Linked DNA regions of Homo sapiens: region 2 is linked to region 1. The links are contacts of gene promoters, found by promoter capture Hi-C in blood cells and fetal thymus (Javierre and others, 2016). All regions are on one chromosome and are shown on one strand. The core of a region is centred on a gene start or on the middle of the fragment in contact, and the rest is flanking DNA. Distances in the headings are between cores, read along the strand shown.

Region 1 (2,796 bases), core at 61-2,560:
CTCCTGTATTCAAGCAAATCTCCTGCCTTAGCCTCCCAAGTAGCTGGGACTACAGGCGCCCACCACCATGCCCAGCTAATTTTTGTATTTTTAGTAGAGACGGGGTTTCACCATGTTGGCCAGGATGGTCTCGATATCTTGACCTTGTGATCCGCCCGCCTCGGCCTCCCAAAGTGCTGGGATTACAGGCGTGAGCCACCGCGTCCGGCCCATGTATGTTGAATACAGGAATGCCTATAGAGAAGATTGAATTGATTGGTGTCACGAGGCAGATTATTCCCAAGTACCACAGGCAGTAAGTACGATAAGTACTGTAAATTAATTGTGTTGAGAAAAACCATGCAAGATTAGATAAACAGACAACCTGCCCTTTAGCAGTAAGACAACAAATTAGACAGAGGTGTATGTAAATATACAGCAACAATATCTATCAGGTATTAACGTTTTAAAGAAAGGGAACAGCAGTGACAGCTAAGAGACCTGGCTTTTAGTCAGCTTTGTATCCAACTCCTTACAAGGATGTAAACAAGACTTTAAATTTGCATGCCGGGTTCTAACCTGTAAAATGACACTGGTTCAAACTATTGCAAAGATTATTGCTAGCGAGGAACAAATTAATGGAAGTTCATTTTTAAATGAGGCTTTTAAATTTTTACATAAATAACAGTCATTACAAAAAAAATTCGTCAGCTTATAAGCATCTCCCATCAACGTTTCAACTCAAAATACAGAATTTTCCTGTTATGAAATGAATTTAAAGGCAAAAAGAAGATTCTGGAAATTCTCTTGCAACTAAAAACCATTTGCGATTTGCACAAATCAATACGGTTTCTGTTTGAGGAGTTTCGCCATCAGATTTTAAAGAGGACTGGAAGGAATACAAGGAAAATAAGCACAATCCAAACCAAAACATCCGGTGATTCTGTTCTTTCTCTGCTAGTCATTACCAGGGGCTATGACTAAGAATTACCTCTTAATGCCAACCGACTCGGGGAGACTCGGGGAGAAGCCCACGGGCCGAGAGGCCCTGAAGTCCGGCTTCCCGGTCCCAGCAGAGACGCTGCCTTGCGCCCTTCGTTCGGGGACCCCTTCGCCGCCGACCTGGAATGCTGAGGAACTGAATGGGGGACTGGAGCTAAGACCACCCGCCCGCAGAGCAGTGGTCGCCTGTAGGGAAAGCGTCCGCACGCCCTCCCCAGTGCCGAAACTTCGCCCCTCCGCAGGGTCCGGCACCTTGGGGACCCCCTCGACACAGTCCCCACGCCACTCACCACCTCCAGCGCCGGCTCCCCAGAAGGCCGCAATTTGAATGGGCGCCCCGCCTTCTGATTGGCTGCTGGGCGTCGCGTCGGGTGCCGCGCCTTTGCTTCCACCCGCCCCCCGGAAGTGCCGGTGGTTGGGCTCCGGTAGCCGTCTCTGAATGCTGGACTCGCCCCACCCTCATCTCCCAGGCAACGCTCCCTCCCCTCCTCGGGTTCTGCTAAAGCGTGGAGCTTGGCCCCCTTTAAATCCGACCAGAGGAAGGGGCGGCGGTCGCGGGCGCAGCGGGCCCCTCGTTGAAGTGGGTGTCAAACGAAAAGCATGACAGTGACACTCTTGTCGGTCTTTAATCTAAAAGAAGCCATTACATCGAAGACTTCACATTGTAAATGGATATTTGCCCCCAAGTTAATCATAATAATTAACTTTTCTAGTGTTTCCTATGCAAGGCGTTCACGTAGGAAATATGCTAAATGTCTTATATGAATTTTTAAACAGTCCTGAAAATCTTGTGAGATAAATATTAATGTTATCCCTCGTTTACAGATGAGGAACTGAGGTTTAGAGTTAAACTTGTGAAAGATCAGACAATTAGCAGTGGCATAACTAGAACTTGAAGGTTCTTGCCGCCGTACAATGTAACTCCGTTTCAGTAAAAGTTCCCTTTTTTTAATTTTTTTTTTCTTTTTTGAGACGGAGTCTCGCTCTGCAGCCCAGGCTGGAGTGCAGTGGCCCCTGCAACCTCCGCCTCCCTGGTTCAAGCGATTCTCCTGCCTCAGCCTCTGGAGTAGCTGGGATTACAGGCGCGCACCACCACGCCCAGCTAATTTTTGTATTTTTAGTAGAGACGGGGTTTCACCATATTGGCCAGGCTGGTCTCGAATTCCTGACCTTGTAAGCTGCCAGGCGTGAGCCACTGCGCCGCCCAGCCCCCATAAGATTTTGAAATCTGAAAAAATATTACAAATACATTCTGAAAAATAACCAAATAAATGAGAAAGACTAGATAAATAGATATTGTAAAGCAACAATGTTTTTTAAACAGGCAAAAAGTACAGAGATATTGAAGAAGTATTCACTGAGATAGAGACCATAAGTAGCTCCAATTATATAGACCAACCAAACAGATGATAAAGTACTCATTCTAAATCTTACTCTAAAAATCATTCTAAAACTCAATTAAAATTAAGGTATAAGGAAACTATCAGAAAATAGAATATAATATTTATCAGGGCCAGGTGCGGTGGCTCACGCCTGTAATCTTAGCACTTTGGGAGACCAAGGCAGGCGGATCACTTGCAGTCAGGAGTTTAAAACCAGCCTGGCTAACATGGTGAAACCCCGTCTCTCCTAAAAATACAAAAATTAGGCAGCCGTGGTGGCGGGCCCCTGTAATCCCCGTTACTCAGGAGGCTGAGGCAGGAGAATCACGTGAACCGGGTAGGCGGAGGTTGCAGTGAGCCGAGATCGCGCCATTGCACTCCAGCCTGGGGGACAAGAGAGAAACTCCGTCTCAAGAAAAAAAAAAAAAAAAGT
Region 2 (2,791 bases), core at 203-2,702, 530 kb after region 1:
TTTGCTTTCTGATGGTTCAGTGTAGATAAACTTTGTTTCATGCACACAATTATTGAAAATATTGTATAAAATTACCTTCGGGCTATGTATATACAGCATATATGAAACATAAACGAACTTCAGGTTTAGACTTAGGTCCCCTCCCCAAGATAGCTCATTTTTTATGTGCAAATACTCCCAAATCCAAAAATATCTGAAACAAAACATACTTTGGTCCAAAGCAAAGGAAGGTATGGAGAACTTAGATAACTTCTCCAAACTTCCTTGCTGGAAGTCCACCACTGATCTGTCTGATCAGAGTGAGCCAGTGCTCTGTGCCCCACCCTTCCTCACTCCTCACCCGCACTATCCTTAGGGAGGCCAGCAGCCTTGAACCTGAAGGAAGACCACTAAAAGAAGTATGGCCCATAGGTGAGTGAGAGGCAGGCTTAAGGAGCAGCTGGCTACCTCTGAGTCAGCCCTGTAGACAGGGTGGCCGTGCACTGTGGTCGTGACCAGGTGCTGCAGGCTCACCTCCCTCACCTTGTTGGCTTCAGCTGGGGGCACCAGCAAACACCCGACCACAGCCACCAAAGATAAGAGCTTCATGCTTATCAGGCTTGCTGGGCCAGCAAAGCCGGACACCTGGAAAAAGAGATACGGAGTCGGAGAAGGGGAAGGTGGCCACACCGCAGCCAGCACGCTAGGCCCTTAACCATCCGGCCAAGTGGGAATGGGGTTGGGGGCTGGGCTCCAGGATTCCAAGGCCTGCTAAACCTGGTCGCCAAACCCTGCTTCCCTCCCGCCCAACTCTCCGGCTCTCCGCCAGCCACCTGGTGAGCCCGGCAGAGGGGTCCTCGAGGGGACACCGCTGCCAGGGGCCTCCAGTTCCTTCTCAAGGCCCGGCTCTGACCCGCGCATCACGTCCCACCGCCCTCCGCCATCTCCGCCTCTGCCCGCCCCGCAGCTCCTCCCCGCTCGGGCCCGACGGGAACTTTTGGGTGCGAGTCTGGGACCCCTGCTCCGACGGCGAAGGCCGGTGCCCACCACGCCCAGAGGTCTTAAGCCGGACTGGGACCCCCAATAGCCCCGCGACCCCCGTCCCCTCCCCCAATGCCGCGTCCACGAACCTACAAGCCCGCTGCAGCCGCAAAAGACCCAGTTGTCCCCGCCCTCTCCTAGCTTCTATTGGTTGCCAGAGCAGCCCCTTAACCCGACCGCGCTGTCGCCATGGCAACAAGACCCGCCTTCACCTGGGCGGGGAGACTCTTGCGCAAGGGAGAGGCGGGCATTTCTCAAACCCGACCAAACCAGAAAAGGGAACGTCAGCCTTCCAAACTCCTGGGGAAGGGTCTTGCCTTTGTGTGGCCTGAGAACTCCCACTGCGGTGCTTCTCCCTTCCTTGTATTATAAAACTCAGCTTGTTTCATCTTGCTGTTTTAGAAAGAAAGCGCTTTATACACTGTAAGCTAGTAACGTCAACAAAAACGATACGAGATTGAAGGGCTTTGTCCTCATTCAAAATCTGGAAATGTTATTTAGGGATCCACGTCTTTGCTGCAGAAGACTTTCTGCGCGGCAACGTCTCTACCCCTACACACACCTCTGAGAAGGAGAAATCTAGGGTTGGCGATGGGTGGTGTGGGCTGGGCCTGTGAAGAGTGTGCACAACAGCGTCCTCAGCCTGATCCCCCTACCCCATGCTGGTGCTGGGCCTGGCAAAATGGGGCAAAGTGTGCATGGCCAGGATGCAGGGGTGAGGGTCCCTGGCTGCTATGTGGCAGATGTGAACTTCTTGCCAGCTGTGAAGGAAAGGGGAGTCATATGAATTCAGGGCACCAGACCCGGAGTGAGGACACCGGGGCTTTGGCCCTGGCGCTCCCCCTAAGCAGCTGTGTTAGCCTGGAAAAGATACCTCCCTTCTCTGGGCCTCAGCTTCCCTTACTTCCCTTATCTGTAAAATGATTCGGTTGGATTCTAAGATCCCCTTCAGCTTTGATATGTTGGGATTCCTTAGGGGTGGGTGGGAGGGGTATCAATATGGCCCAAACTTGAGGTTGGTGGCTGGATTAGCATAGGGGCTGGGTCCAGGTGGAATCAAGCCCCTCGCAGGCCCTGTGAACTGAGGTGGGCACTTATCTGGAGGCCACTGAGTTTGTGTTCCTCTCTCCTATGCTTATGTCTTATTCCTCTTTATATCCTTGCCACCTGGCAGAGTGACCTGTGTTTGGTAGGTGCTCAGGAAGTGTTTGCTAAACTGAATTCTATAGAATTAAATTAAATCTAGTTGGCAGGGGGCAGGGGCAGGAGGCCTGCAGTGTGATGCAAAGGTCAGGGGCTTTGGAGCTAGAGTGACCAGGGCAGGAATCCTGGTTCCTCCCTTCCTAGTTGTGTGAATTTGGGTGGTTTCCTTTAGGACACCGCCTTTGGATCTTTGGAAGTCTTTGGAATCCTTTCAGAAGTCTCGGTTTCCATGCCCATAAAATGGGATTAATATTACCAAATTTTCAAGGTGGTTGTAGGGATATAATGAGTTTACATATGCAAAGCACCTAGAACAGCATCTGACACAAAGAGGGAGGCTCTATAAATGGCAATGTTAGCTCATTGTGGAGGTCAGAATGGCTGCTTTGGTGAGCAAGCTCAGGCAGAGACAGAATGCCTACCTCGTGGGGGCAGAAGGGATAGTTCAAGTACTGGAAAAAGACACTTCTTCCCCCCATATACGTTCCATATGAAGGTGGGACTTTCATGGGGACAAAAGCATGGGGCTGAGTCTGTCACCTCCAATGGATGACCCTCTGACACACAA

The links. Contacts are between HindIII fragments. The CHiCAGO score rates a contact against its expected background, and 5 or more counts as called.
Region 2: a contact is called between a fragment that was not itself captured here and the fragment with the promoter of KIF14 in region 1, in 1 of 17 cell types (naive CD8 T cells). The highest score is 5.9, in naive CD8 T cells.

The regions. Positions count from the first base shown.
Region 1 is chr1:200,619,441-200,622,236 of GRCh38, forward strand. KIF14 (kinesin family member 14) reads right to left here and starts at 1,311. Exons shown (of 30, transcript NM_014875.3): 1 at 971-1,311. RefSeq lists an enhancer at 579-1,080 and a silencer at 1,249-1,398. The HindIII fragment of the contact is 3,652 bases long and covers 1-2,796 here.
Region 2 is chr1:201,153,336-201,156,126 of GRCh38, forward strand. TMEM9 (transmembrane protein 9) reads right to left here and starts at 1,139. Exons shown (of 5, transcript NM_001288565.2): 1 at 523-1,139. The coding sequence starts at 588. RefSeq lists an enhancer at 376-525 and a silencer at 936-1,215. The HindIII fragment of the contact is 3,749 bases long and covers 1-2,791 here.